2 separate regions of the Homo sapiens genome follow, and region 2 is linked to region 1. Evidence: promoter capture Hi-C in human tissues and cell types (Jung and others, 2019). All regions are on one chromosome and are shown on one strand. The core of a region is centred on a gene start or on the middle of the fragment in contact, and the rest is flanking DNA. Distances in the headings are between cores, read along the strand shown.

Region 1 (7,781 bases), core at 3,128-5,627:
GATCAGAACAGGTAAAAACTCAGCTCCTGTCTCAAGAATGGGAAATTAACCCCAGTAAAATTCAAGGACCTACACAAATTGTAAAATTTCTTGGCATCCTATGGAATGCAGGGAAATAGTCCATTTTACCAAAGGCTAAGCTAAAATACTAAAATGTGCAACCCCTACCATTAAAAAGGAGGCTCAGAAATTTATTGCCTTGTTTGGATTCTGGAGACATCATATTCCCCACTTGGGTGACATTTTACAACCTCTTCAGGCAGTCACTAGAAAAGGCTATGACTTTCACTGGGGAGAGGAAGAGAGCATGGCTTCTGAACAAGTTAAACAAGTGGTGCAACTGGCCCTGGATTTATGGCCCATACAAGATGGACCAGTAGAACTGCAAGTAACTGTCCTAGATCAACATGCTAATTGGAGCCTCAGCCAGGAACAAGATAGGAAGAGGGTACCTTTGGGGTTTTGGACCTGGAAACTGCCAGAGGATGGCAAAGTTTATACACCTTTCTAGAAGCAATTGTTAGCTTGCTATTGGGCTTTGCTGGAAATGGAGCACCTCTGCTTCAACCATGATATCTTTATGAGGCTTGAAATTCCTATTATGACTTGGGTCATGAGTTCCCCCAAAGCTCACCGGATAGGGCACACCCAAGAAAGTAGCATCATCAAATGGAAATGGTACATACAAGACCAGGCTAAGCCAAAACCAAAGGGGGTATCACTTTTACATGAGGATATATACAAAACTTGCCAGCTCAGGAAACCACCAAGCAAGTCCTACAGATAGGGAAGGAAACCTCCCCCGCCCAATGGGGCAAATCCTTTAAAGAACTAAGCCCAGAGGATCAGAAACATGCTTGGTTTACTGATGGATCTACCAAATACATTGATGGGACCCGATGCTAGAAGGCCATGGCTCATAACCCTGTTAAAAAGCATAAGCATTTCTGATGAAGGAAGGGGTGGGAGCAGCCAGCTGGCTGAACTAGTAGTGGTCCTCTGAGCTATTCAGGAGGAGGCCAGAGGGATTTGCCACTTGAATACCAACTCTTGGTCAGTAGCAAATGTTCTTACCACCTGGATGCCCCAATGGCAACAAAACAAATGGTTAATTGGGAATGAAGAGGTTTGGGGTAAACAATACTGGGAAGATATCTGAATCCTGGCACACACTACCATTATCACTGTTTTCCATGTTGATGCTCATGCGTCTGTTTGCTCTTGACAGACTATTTCATCAGCAGGCAGATCAACAGGCCAAAATTTCCACCATAACTGCAAACTTGAATGTGGATGAATGGATTACAACATGTTCAAGACTTGCAATGAGAGGCTTTATAATGTATGGTGGTATAATTGATAGTGCTTACCGGGGAGAGTTAAAGGTCATTTTATACAATACCACTCCAGATTCTTTTGCTATAAAACCTCAGATGCAGGTTGCTCAATTGTTAGTGGAACCTTGTCAGCAATTAACCCCTGAGGAAATCTGCCCCAACAGAGGCTACATGCAGAACTGGGGGATTCAGATCCTGGAGCCAAAATCCTGGAGCCAAAATATGGGTACAGCGTCCATCAGGTCCCACCCTTAAGACTGGTGACCTTGTAGCTATAGGAGCAGAAAATGAAGCACACTACAATTTCCTAAAGATGAAAAACAATATCATGTTCCCCTCTGTTTTTGTTATCACATGGAATAACCTATCTACTAATGGTCAGCACCTGTGTCTTTGTGTCTGACGCCAAGATTAAATTCATCAACTGGGTAGCCACCGCTGCAGAGGAAGCCAACCACAGTCAATGTTGGCTATGTGGGAATGAGCTACCTTGGAGAATCCTCCCTGCTAACATTTCTGAATGACTATGTCGCTACCAATGGGACCACAACAACAACACTTGCAATCCAACCTGGACTTTCTTTGACCAAACCAAGCCTTGGTACTCTGGGGTTTCTCCTGCCAGACAATTGTCAACACATGCTCCAAATCAACAACATTACCCCCAATGAAACACAATCTCTTTCCTACTTTTATAACACATTAGTACACTATGATTACAGTAACTCCATTGCTGTCCCCTGCGGGGCCCTCTGGGTATGCGGATCCTATGGGTAGCGATACCTGCCCCCATATTGGATGGGGATATGCACTTGGGGGTGGCCATTAATTCCATTCACCATCCGGGATAATATTCCCCTCCCCAGTAATCTAGATGCTTACAAACATCCCTGGTTAGAATGCATCCGACTCCGTAGGGGTGGTATCCTATCACAGCATTCTCCCCTGCAGCTGATACAATCCTGCTTCAGCAACAAATTAAAACATTAAGCTCACTTCTAAGAAAAGCTCTTAATGATAGTAGCACTGGATGTATGTTGTTATCAGATGAATTTGCTCAGCTATGTACTGTTGTGTTGCAAATGGAAAGGCATTAGATATGCTTACTGCAGCCCAAGGAGGGGTTTGCACCTTACTGCACTGGATGTTATGTGTATATCCCTGACAATTCTCACAATATTACTCTCCTTGCAAAGCCATGATGGGTGTGTTATTAATTTTGCTTTTAATTCTCCTGTGCTTACCCTGTATCTGTAATCTCTATCAACTATGCCTTCCCCATGTATCTGTAGGGGTATTTTCCTGCGATTGAGTATCAGATTGAAGCCGAATGTGGAGGAAAACTTAAATATTAAATTTGAACTCAATTGAACATGGACACAAACAATGGCCACCAAGTCCCAGAACAGGTGGTGTGAGCCCCTTGAGGAATTCATCGAGCGCTGTTTCAAATAAATCTCTATTTAAATTCCTATTTGTTAGTTATTGAAACACAACAGACAATCGCAAACACAAGTTGACCTTTTTGTGTTCCTTGAGTCCAGTCGGGAAGGGCCCTTGTGACTGGGTCTCATGCCAAACAACTTGTTACGATAAGAGCTAGGGTCCCAGACCATGAGGAAACTTCATGAGAATCCTCTGTAGTCTGGTGAGTGTAGTGTCCGACTCTGGAGCCCAGGCTGTTGCTTCCCGGTGTGGTGGTGAATCCTCCACAGTCTGGTGAGTGTACCTATAAATATATCTTTTCCTTCTCCCCTTCCCATTGCAATTTGCTTATTATATCATTTGCTTATTATATCCGCGTTGCCATTTAATTGGGATAAAGGTTGTTTACCCTTAAAAGTATGGTGTGTGTGTCTTTTCTTCTCCCCTTGCGCCTTTCTCGCACAGAACAATAGGCTCGTCCATTACTTTCAGTCGTTACATTTCTTGGAAGTTTCGTAATCCGGTGCTGATTCTAGTGTTTGGATGCCCATACTAAGTTTCTGCTTTTCAAGATGTCAATTTAACATCTCACCTCGCAATCACGTTGTTCTAATTTTAACAATTATTTATTGAACCCTTAAGTTCTAGACACTGCAGAATGCTTTACCTAAGATTTTCCAATTTCGTTCTCAAAACTTCCCCGTGCGTTGGTCGCTATTAACTCCATTTGACAGATCTGGAAACTGGGGCCCAGAGAGGCTAGTCCAGGCCACTCAGCTAGTCACTCTTGGAGCGGGGCCTCTGATCTAGCTAGTGGTGTAATAGAAATTGTAAATCATTTCAAAGAATATATATATTTCCCGTAACACCCTAGAGTTTTCTCCTAGCCCAAGAATTGTCCTTTTTGACCTCTGGTGATTGTTTCTCCTTGAGCCAGATAAGCTGCAAACCTGTTGGAAGCAGTGAAGGGCCATAGGGAAGAGCAGCCTTTGGGGAGACAGCCACCTGAAATTCTGCTCCACAACCTCCGCTCCAGGAGAGCGGGCCGAACGCACCGCGGTCGCAGCTTTCCTGAGGACACGGGTCCCCATGTCACTAGCGACACCTGCGCTCCGGGCCCAAAGCACAATCACAAAGTGCGGGACCTTTGGGCGGTGCTGGGCGGCCTGGCCCCGCAGCCACTGGGCCGGTTGGTCCCGCAGGACTCTGCTCCGTGGAGCTTTTGTCCTTGGGCCGGGGCCCTGCGACCCGCGCTACCCAGGTCGAGCCCCGCCAGGAGGCTCCCTCCTCCCGCCATTCTCCAGAGAGTAGGGGGTCGGGAAGGAGAGAACGGCGGGGCGGGGCCTGCCACCCACAGTCCCCAACCCAAGGACGTCACGGTCCCAGGTGCGAGTGCGAGCGGGCGGGAGTCCACCCCGCGCCTCCCTCCTCTGCTGAACTCCCCACCTCTGTAAAAGCGGCCCGGGCCGGCCCCCGGCTCCATTTTCTCGCGGCGGCCACACCTGGAGCCGCGCCTTTGGGTTGGGCTGGGCTGGGCCGCGCAACCGCCACGGGAAGACAGCCCTCGGGGCGGGGAGGGAGAGGGTGGCCGGGCCGGGGGGAGGCCGGGGCCAGGGAGGAGCCGAGTGCGCGCTCGGGGCAGGCGGCGGCGCGGAGCGGTGCGGCGGCGGGAGGCGGAGGCGAGGGTGCGATGGCGCGGAGCCCGGGACGCGCGTACGCCCTGCTGCTTCTCCTGGTAAGTGCCGCAAGCGGGACAGGGGAGCCACCGCCGGGGAGGGCGTCGGTAGGCGAGGTCTAGACCTCGCGACCAGACTTGCCCGCCGCCCTTGTGCGCGTTACCTGCCCGGCGCTCCTTCCTGCTGCCCGAGGGGGGAAAAGGGCCGGGCAGGCTGCGGCGAGATCCGACCTGGGGCTTCGGAAAATCCTCTTGGCTGGAGCCAGGAGAGTAAGTTGCGACCTATCGAAGTTGTGTTTTCCTTCCCGCGTCACCCAGGCCCCAGCGCCCTTTTCTGTGGTGTGTGGGTGTAGTGAGCCCTGGGGCGGGGAACACCATTGCTGGGGGTCGGAGGCTTTGTTGAGAGTCTCTGGGACGAGAAACGTGGAGGCAATAGGGAACAACCTCGCGCTTCTTCCACGTTCCTTAAATTTCCCTAGGATTCCCCAGCTCCTCTAGCCGCCGACACAAGCCAGTGAACTGGGGAAACCAGGAACATACTTGTATTCTTAGAGTGCAAAAAGTTGGCTAAAAATTTTTTAAAAAGGTGTAATTTACAAAGCTTAATTTTAAGTGGATCACCCACATATAGTTTTAACTTAAAGTTTATGAAGTTGGTGTTTCAAAAGTTTTCCAATATTAAAGATAATAAACATATGTAATAGTTTGAAGCCTTATTCATTTAAAAGGTTACAGAAAATGGAAGTGTAGCGCCCCCTCCCCCACGCCCCACCCCTCACTCCCGGAAACGACGTTCAGTCCCTGGATTTAGAGTTCTTTTGCTCAAATTGGATTTTAAACTGTTGGTTTTCTGTTTGTTTAAGGGGTTGCACGTATGTATCTCGCTTATAGGGGTTTACTAAAGGGGTTTTAATAAAGTGACAGTTATGCTGCAAATATAGGTGTGAGTTCACCTTCCAGAGAGTTCACAAATATGTGTTTACAGAGATTAGATGCAAAATCATACTCAGTTTTCTTACGTAATAATTAAAAATGCAAATACATTCACTATATTCAAAGTTCTAACTTCCAAAACATGAGCCCTTCTATCCTCGAGTTTTGGTGGGATGTGGAAGAAAATCGTGTGTGTGTGTGTGTGTGTGTGTGTGTGTCTCAAAACGGAAAAAGGCGTGACTGAATCCAGTCTAGAGATTTCCATGAACTCTCAGGTGGAAGAGCATGATAATTAGGGCGTCCAGGCCTAGCACACAGTTCATTTTCATGCTCTATTTATCCATTTCATTTTCCCCGTGTCCTTGAGGTAACTTTCAATGAAAATTCATTTTGTTGACAAAACTTTTCTAAGACGTGATCTGGGACGTCGTTTTTAGCCTCTGGGCTGGCAAAACAACTAATCCTGTCACCTTGATGTTTCCTTGTTTAAGGAGAATCCCAAGCTAATGTAACACCTAGCTTACTTTGAGAGTTACATATTCTTTCCATATATGAAAATAAATGACCTTTAATCTTCAAATAATGTAGCAATCAGGCCAATTTGTACACTCACAGAGTAGCAGGTAAGCAAATTAGGCATATCTTTCATTTTAGCAATTTGATACTTTTACCTTATTGGGCAGTAATAAACATCTCCTTTAGAAAGCGACTATAGCCAATGGAACAGGAGCAAAATTCTTGGACTGTTCTATGTATTTTCTATAAAACTTTCTGCAGTATAAATTTGAATATGTTTATTTTTGTCCAGAGAGTAGTGGGCAATGCAGCATTTTACCCCCAGTGTGTTTGCAGTTGCAGTTTTTTGGTAAAAAAAAAAAAAAAAAAAAAAATGGAAAGCAACTCATCTGACAGAAGTAGTTGCCAAGGAAACAGGTCCTTTATTGGAAGGAATATAAATTGTAGTCTGTTAGATCAGAGTTCAGTTGCAAATAACGGAATTTACTCTAGCTATTTAAAGCAAGAATAGGTTTATTTCGGGGCACTAAACTGACTACCTAAGTGTAGGAAGGATTGAGAAGACTGCCATTTGAGCTGTCAGTAATGACTTCAAAGCCACACAGCAGAGCCACACCGCTTAGGGAGCTGCTGCCTCTCCTGTGACCAGGAACTGCACTGCCACTCCCACAGTCTGAAAAACTGCTGTGATCAGGGTGCTACTTTTGCTACCAGCTGCAGACCCATGCATGCCACATCTGCTAGGATGCATAACAACATGGATGCTTGTACCTTGCCTCTTGGTGTTCACAAATCTAGTAGCTGGACACTAGAGCCATAATAAGATGACTACAAAGAACCCAGCTCCATACGTCCATATCTGCTTGCCAGGAGGCACAGAGCTCTGTTTCACTTCCTTCTTTCAAATCTCATGTAAATACTAATTGAACCCAAACCCCATTCAGAACGAAGCCTGCAGTGGAGTCTGTGACACATGGTCTTTCGCTTTCCTCAGCAGTGCAGGGAGACACACCAGAAGGTAGCTGTGTCACCCACATAGCTATCAAACATTTAGGCCAGCTGTATCAAAATGGGAAAAAGAAATAATTTTCTGAATAAAATCAGAGAATATTTCCTCTTCAAGGGTTCTTTGCAATCCATCAACTCCCAAATGGTTCACAGATAGAATTCAAAGAGTTCCTAGAGATGGCAAGGAATTAATTACATATATATTTTAACTAACTTCGGACTGAAATTTAGTATTTCTTTAAATTATGAGTGTGGGGAAGACACTGCACAGTAGTGTGAGCAGTAGCTGTGACTATCACAATAGAATTCATAAATACCTTTACATCTTATGGTGATCTCAAAATACCATTTATTCTGAACATCACTAATAGACTTTCTACTAGATCTTTTACTTAATATGTTAATAAAATACATGATACTGCTGCATCACAAATTGGTATTTTAAAAATGCTGATAACTATTTCAATATAATTGGGTTCATTGATAATCCCCTGTATTTTATTTTATACATTTGAAATCATTAATCTGAGAAGGGGTTCATAGGCCTCGCCAGATTGCCAAGGAGGGCTCGTGGGTGAGAGATTTCCTGATGGTTGCTTCAATTTTGGGTTCGACTAATGAAGCTTGTGCTTTAAAATCAAACTACATTTTAAGGATTCAATGATAGCAGATCACACTGTGAGCAGATATATTTAGTAGGGTATTAGTTTGCTAGGACTGCTGTAACGAAGTGCTAAAAACTGAGTGGCTTAAAACAACAAAAATGTATGATCTCACAGTTCCAGAGGCTAGAAATCCAAAATCAAGATATGGGCAGGGCCATGCTCCCTCTGAAACCAGTTTCCCTCCTTTCCTCTTCCAAGTGCATACTGGTTTGTTGGCAATCT
Region 2 (7,781 bases), core at 2,709-5,208, 200 kb before region 1:
TCCAAATTTAATGCTTCCTTCAGGAGCTCTTAAAAAGCAGGTCTGGTAGTGACAAATTCCCTCAGTATTTGCTTGTCTGGAAAGGATCTTATGTCATTTCAGTCTTACGTTCAGCACCTCAGCATACATTGAGGTCAAGAGATAAATGTGTATTATGGACAACATGGTATATTCATGGTTGTTTTTTCCTCTAGGGCAACCAATCTTTTGTTTCCTGGACCAAACTTGTCTACCTGACTCTTTTCCCCTATGAGATATATAAGATTGTCTTCTGGGTAGCTCATCATTCTCTCATGCATACCTGAATTGCTGGTGGCTCATCCCATACCTACTGAACCTGGAGGCATAAATCTGGGTCAAAGAAAGGGAGACTTCACTACATTTAGATTCATACTTCCTGCAAGTTACTAGATCTTGCATTTTAAGAGAAGCTACAAAAGGAAAGAATACAATTTATGTAGTTACATATTTATTCATTGAAATTACTAAATGCTAAAAGAGATATCCTTGAAAAAGAAATGCTTTAGAAGTTCTAAAATGAAAGAATTGATATCATTTTATTTATTTCCCTCTAGTAACCTTTGAAATATTTTATTTTTGCAATCACGTGAAGTCATTTTTTTTTTTTTGAGATGGAGTCTTGCTCTGTCACCCAGGCTGGAGTGCAGTGGCATGATATTGGCTCACTGCAACCTCCACTTCCTGGGTTCAAGAGATTCTCCTGCCTCAGCCTCCTGAGTAGCTGGGATTACAGGCACCCCACCCCCACCACACCCAGATAATTTTTGTATTTTTAGTAGAGACACGGTTTCACCATGATGACCAGGCTGGTCTCAAACTCCTGACCTCAGGTGATCCACCTGCCTCGGTCTCCCAAAGTGCTGGGATTATAGGCATGAGCCACCATGTCTGGCCATGAAGTCATTTTTAAAAGGTTACATTGATAATTGATATTTGGTTGCAAAGAAAGGCAGATACTTCATCCTAAGGAAAGAGACAAGCAGGCAAAGCTCAACCCAGAAACAAAGCCTTGGTCTGGGAAAACCATATAGTGTGTGCCACTCTGAGCTCTTCCTGGCCCACCCATGTCTGAGATTCAGGGAGACAGTGGTACAAAACTCTTTAGCTTTGAAAGATATTATAATGCATCATTAATTTGATATTCCCCCATAAGAAAAGAGGGCAACATTTTATTTTCTTCACCCCGTATGGCTGCATCCCAGGATCTAGCTCTCCCGAGTGGGACAGTGGGTGTTGTCTGGGGAAGAGCAGTGGTGCTTAAGCATCTGACCAGATCTGCTCATAAACACTTGAATGAATTCCACAAGAAATCACAGAAATGCTTGGTGGTTGAAAGGATGGTCTTTTTAGTGATCCAGGGGTGAGTTTTAGCAGATGGGACCTGTATCGGTTAAAAGATCAGTTACAATTAAAAGGACCAGAAGTACTTTTACTTTTTCTCACAGACTGCCTTTTTGTGCTTCTCTACAATTTGTTTATCAGATTTAATGGATAACTACAACCTTTGGCTAGTTTCCTGGATGGTTCAATATCTCCTTAGAAAAGTCTCCAAACATATCACACTGAAAATCACATCAATACCCTTTGTGCTTTTTTAATTCCTTATGAAGACTACAATTAGATAAAGGCTCATCATTAGCTCCAGAAATGAAACTTCGGACTTTACTCATGCAGCAACAACTTTTTGTTCGTAAACACTGCAAACAGTACAACCTGTGAACCACACCATTGCATTGATTTGCCATTGTTCAATTTAGGTCTTATTGGCCTAATTATTAGGTTCAATTTAGCTTAAGGAGCACTAGCACATCATTTCAGTCATAAGGAGTCTAGTGTGTACAGACTCTTTTCCCTTTTTTTATGTTTTTGAGATAGGGTCTCATTCTGCACAGTCTGGAGTGCAATGGAATAATCATAGCTCATTGCAGCTTCCAACTCCTGGGCTCAAGGAATCCTCCCACTTCAGCCTCCTGAGGAGCTGGAATTAACAGATGTATGTCACTTTGCCTGACTGATTTTTTTTTTTCTGTAGAGACAGGGTCTTACTACATCACCCGGGCTGGTCTCAAACTCCTGGCTTCAAGTGATCCTCCTGCCATGGCCTCCCAAAGTACTGGGATTACAGGCAAGAGACACTACACCTGGCCCAAATCTTATTCAATTGATTCCAACTTTCATTTTTATCACTTCTCCCCAACACCCCTCACCATTTGCCCCTGCCCTATCTATTCCTCTCTTTTCCTTCCCAAGTTTCAACAGTGCTATCCTCCTTAGAACTGCATTACATGCCCTAAAACACTTTCACACTTTCTCTCCTTTCTCTCAACCTGCACTCAATCTGTTCAAGGACCAAACATGCCTAATCGCAGAGAAGCCTCCCCACCCATCAGTCCAGCCCAGCCCAGAGTCTGAGCACAGGTTACTGCTTGCTCTGGGACTTCTCCACCCATTTCTACCTCCCCACCTGCCGCCTCTGCTCCTCGCCCAGTGGACACCCTGAGGCGATCGCCTGCTCTCCCAAGCTAGTTATACCATTATCTTCACTCTCCATCCCTGGAGCCAGTTTTACTGCTCATTGTTCACTAGAGAAAGCAAAAAAAAAAAAACTAAGGCTTTAATTTTCAGAAGGCACTTAACTAGGGAGGAATTTGGATGCTATGGGACAGTCATGTTTAATCCCTTTTGTTTTTTTACCATAACCCATCACAAGAAATACCTTTTACACTCTTACCAAGTGTATATACCTATACACTGAAGAAAACATAAATTAATATAACACACCAGAGGAAGGAACCAAATACACCAAATATATCATATGCAAAATTAATTCCTGTGAATTCAACCACACATTTGAAAAACAATGGGAATTTAGATAGGATGCATGTACTTTAATATATTATGTATATTTCAGTGTTGTAATTATAATAGCCAACACTTATTCAGCACTTGCTCTGTGCCTGGCACATATATTAAATCACTTAATTCTCCTAACACTATGTGGTAGGTGCTGGTATTAGTCCTATTTTATCAATAAGGAAGCTGAGGTACAGAAAGGTTAAATAACTTTCCCGGGGTCACATAGATGGAAGTGATTGGACCAGGGTTTAAACCCAGGCTGACACACTCCACGACTACTACCCTACCTCCTCCATCAGACATGTGTAACTTTATACCACTACGTAAGTTTATGTTCACAAAGTATATTGTTGTTTGTCGGTAATTTAGAGGTTTTTCTAGGTTTTTATGATCAGAGTGATATTCTGGTTTCATCCATTACCTTATAATCTTACTCTCTGCAAGATGAAATTCACAGGAAACATTCATATTCGACAGACTTTTTTAAATTTTGAAGATGGCATGGGCTCTCTTAGTGCAATAAATTGATGTTAATAATTAGCGTATTCTTTCTAATTAAATATAAAACACTGGAATTATATATTACAATAAGAACCAACTGTGGCAGGGTGCGGTGGCTCACACCTGTAATCTCAGAACTTTGGGAGGCTGAGGCAAGTGGATCACTTGAGGTCAAGAGGACGAGACCAACCTGGCCAATGTAGTAAAACCCCGTCTCACGTAAAAATACAAAAAATTAGCCGGGCATGATGGTGGGCGCCTGTCCCAGCTACTACTACAGTAGGATTACAGTAGCTGTAATCCCAGCTACTCAGGAGGCTGAGGCAGGAGGATCGCTTGAGCCTGGGAGGTGGAGGTTGCAGTGAGCTGAGATCGTGCCACTGCACTCCAGCCTGTGCGACAGAGTGAGACTCTGTCTCAAAAAGAAAAAAAACACACACACACACACAACCAACTATGCAGCAGCTACTCTTAATGCAATTTTAAAATTTCCTTTCTCATAAGAAAATGTACTTATTACAAAAATATTTACTTCCTAGAATCACAACCTGTTAGAACTAAAAGCAGCCACACTTCAACCAACCTACCATTTTTCCTTTGTGAAAAAGAACCCTGAGACCAAAAGACATGACAATTCTTCTCAAGGAACAATTTAATTAAAAATGAACAAAAGATGTTATAAAAATTAACCATAACTTTCTGGAATACTACCAAGAAAAGCTGATTTATAATGTCACAAATGATGTGAAACTTTTAAAAATTAGTTCTTTTCTTAAAGCTTCTGTGTTTGAAATATTAAGAATGCATTGTCTTCAAAAATTAACCATAACTTTCTGGAATACTACCAAGAAAAGCTGATTTATAATGTCACAAATGATGTGAAACTTTTAAAAATTAGTTCTTTTCTTAAAGCTTCTGTGTTTGAAATATTAAGAATGCATTGTCTTCAAAGCTAAGTTCTTTTTTTTTTTTTTTTTTTTTTTTTTTGAGACGGAGTCTCGCTCTGTCGCCCGGGCTGGAGTGCAGTGGCGGGATCTCGGCTCACTGCAAGCTCCGCCTCCCGGGTTCACGCCATTCTCCTGCCTCAGCCTCCCAAGTAGCTGGGACTACAGGCGCCCGCCACTACGCCTGGCTAATTTTTTTTTTGTATTTTTAGTAGAGACGGGGTTTCACCGTTTTAGCCGGGATGGTCTCGATCTCCTGACCTCGTGATCCGCCCGCCTCGGCCTCCCAACAAAGCTAAGTTCTATGTGAATAACTTAAGTTGGTCCAAAGAAATAACAAGTCTGAGTATGAATTTATGCTAATTGGGCACACCTACTCAGAAACAAACAAGTTTAACAAGTTCTCACTGAGAATATACATTTAGCAGACCTATTAATTTACCAAAATAATAGTAATATTGACATAAAGCAACTATACCAGCTCACAGGATAATAAGATAGCAGTGGACATAGGACAATGGTCAAATGCTTCCTGAGTTTCATAAGTTTTATTCTAATTCAACTTAGACATGCCTCATAAGCTGAGTGTGAGGTAGCATTTATGGTTATGGCATTATCTGGGAGGTATATCTAAAGGAACAAATATTTGGTTCGGCAGTAAAAGAAAGACCATTTAGCTTTTAGTAATGTCTCAAATTTCAAAATCATTTTGCGGAATCTAGCCAGGTAATGATTTTCCTGAACATTGGACCGTCAATGAATTTGTGAAGGTGATGCATGCAAGAGTTTCCAAAATCATTTTGAAATTAAGGGCTTACTGTTTAAATCAAATATTTACCCCCAAGTTAGAGAATTTGGTGAATAATATACATATAAATACAAATAAATCATCACTTTGACCCGATACTGCTTTCAGGTAGGGGTCTAGTGAACTTTTGTATGCATCGTTCTCACAAATTCAACAGCTGTCCAATGTTCAAGAAAGCCATCACCTGGCTAGATTCTGCAAATACCATCCTGATGTGTAATAGCCCCTAGTAAGCAACAGGCCCTTAGGTATATAAGCAGTTAGATTGAGAAGATGGATAAGACTGTCACAATCTACTCATTTGCTCAATGCTATCAAGTATTGGCTAGTCCTACACATGACCCAAAATACTAGAGCATCAACTTATGTTTTAGCAAATTTAGATAATCTTCAGTTTTAAATGCCACAACTTTCTGAAATTCAAAGACAATTAAATAAACTAAACTGTATACTCCGTCCTTAAAAATAAGGATGTTTCAAAAGATGGTGATTGATTCATTTCCTAAGAATGCAAAAGAAGTGAACATTTCATGTAAAATATACTTTAAAGTTAGGAGTTAAGGAGGTGTTCAACTACGTTCATTAAATTTGAAAATCTTTTTGTCTGCTATCTCTACTGCAGTAAAATGCATATGGTAGATAATCACACTAACAGAATTTCTGATTTTTTATTACATTTTCACTTTCAGTGCTTATATCCCTTTACTTATTTAAATATAAACAACACTATTTAGGTTTACTGCAATACATTTATTCATTTATGAGCTTTGAAAAGTTTAACAAATTCTTCACAATTTCCCATCAAACATATGATATAAGGGGGTAATTTAAATATGAGATCATGGCATTTATGTGGCCAAAAAACACATGAAAAAAAGCTCAACATCACTGGTCATTAGAGAAATGCAAATCAAAGCCACAGTGAGATACCATCTCATGCTAGTCAGAATGGTGACTATTAAAAAGTCAAGAAACAATAGATGCTGGTGAGGCTGTAGAGAAAGCGAAATGATTTTACACTGTTGGTGGGAATGTAAGTAAGTTCGATCATTGTGCAAGACAGTGTGGCAATTCCTCAAGGATCTAGAACTAGAAATACCATTTGACCCAGCAATCCCATTACTGGGTATATACCCAAAGGAATATAAATCATTCTACTGTAAAGACACATGCACATGTATGTTAACTGCAGCACTATTTACAATAACAAAGACTTGGAACCAACCCAAATGTTCATCAATGATAGACTGGATAAAGAAAATACAGCACATATATACCATGGAATACTATGCAGCCATAAAAAAGAATGAGATCATATCCCCTTGCAGGGACATGGATGAAGCTGGAAGCCATCATCCTCAACAAACTAACACAGGAACAGAAAACCAAACACTGCATGTTCTCACTCAGAAGTGGGAGTTGAGCAATGAGAACCCATGGACACAGGGAGGGGAACAACACACACTGGGGCCAGTCATGGGGTTGGGGGCAAGGGGAGGGAGAGCATTAGGACAAATGGCTTATTTATGCAGGGCTTATAACCTAAATGACAGGTTGATAGGTGCAGCAAACCACCATTGCACATGTATACGTATGTAACAAACCTACGCATTCTGCACTTGTATTCCAGAACTTAAAATAGAATAAAAAATAAAAAAATAGGACAGGGCACAGTGGCCCACGCCTATAATCCCAGCACTTTGGGAGGCCGAGGCGGGCAGATCACTAGGTCAAAAGATAGAGATCTTCCAGGCCAACATGGTAAACCGGGTCTCTACTAAACATACAGGCGGCATGCACTTGTAGTCCTAGCTACTCGGGAGGCTGAGTCAGGAGAATCGCTTAAACCCAGGAGGCGGGGGTTGCAGTGAGCAGAGATTGCGCCTGGTGACAGAGCAAGACTCTGTCTCCAAAAATAAATAAATAAATAAAAATATAAAAAATAAACAAATAAACTCATAATAAGGAGTCTAGGCAGAAACAGACACAAAGGGAAAGTTCCAGACTCTGTGTATCTGGTCATTTTACACCCATTTTTCTTTATGGGCAGGGTTACTTTTTCATATTTGTAATCTCTGCTATTCCCTTAGTAGAGACCCTGCTAACAATAAAGGTTGTATTTGTGAAAAAACAAATAAATAAATAAATATCAGGTCATGGAGCAGATTAGAGGATATCTAAGTTTTTTCCAGTTTTTGTAATAAAAAAGACATTGTGCTGCATTCATTTTTTGCCTGCATTTTTACCTGAAGACAGTATTATTTAGCAAGGTCAATTACATTTTATCTGAAACATTAACATCTTATGTACAAATTAATGAGAAAAATAGAGTCATTACAGAAAAATTAACTTATTCATATATCTTGTTTTTAAATAGTTAATCTCAAAAATACATATCAAGTTTTTATACAATATTCTGTGCCAGATGCAACATATAGTTGTTGTAGGCACTCAGTAAACACCAGTGGAATAAATCAAAGACTATAACATTAAATATTACAAACTAAAAATTCTTTGTGGTTGAAAAAACAATAGTAATAAATTACTCATTATTTGTTTTAAAAACTATGTCTTGGCTCACTTATGTTAGCAGTTTAAATGGTCAGTGGTTCTCCAAGGGTTTGTATTTTTAGAATATGAGAGTCTCCTTT

Evidence for each region. Contacts are between HindIII fragments. The study calls those that stand out against the background at their distance.
Region 2: a contact is called between a fragment that was not itself captured here and the fragment with the promoter of DSG2 in region 1, in 1 of the 25 tissues and cell types used here (H1 embryonic stem cells).

What each region holds. Positions count from the first base shown.
Region 1 is chr18:31,493,800-31,501,580 of GRCh38, forward strand. It overlaps DSG2 (desmoglein 2), which reads left to right and starts at 4,378. Exons shown (of 15, transcript NM_001943.5): 1 at 4,378-4,497. The coding sequence starts at 4,453. RefSeq lists enhancers at 3,768-3,907, 6,623-6,732 and a silencer at 4,108-4,577. The HindIII fragment of the contact is 8,335 bases long and covers 1-6,277 here.
Region 2 is chr18:31,292,083-31,299,863 of GRCh38, forward strand. No RefSeq gene overlaps it. Among named protein-coding and RNA genes, the nearest start is that of DSG1, 22 kb to the right of the region's middle. The HindIII fragment of the contact is 5,468 bases long and covers 1,225-6,692 here.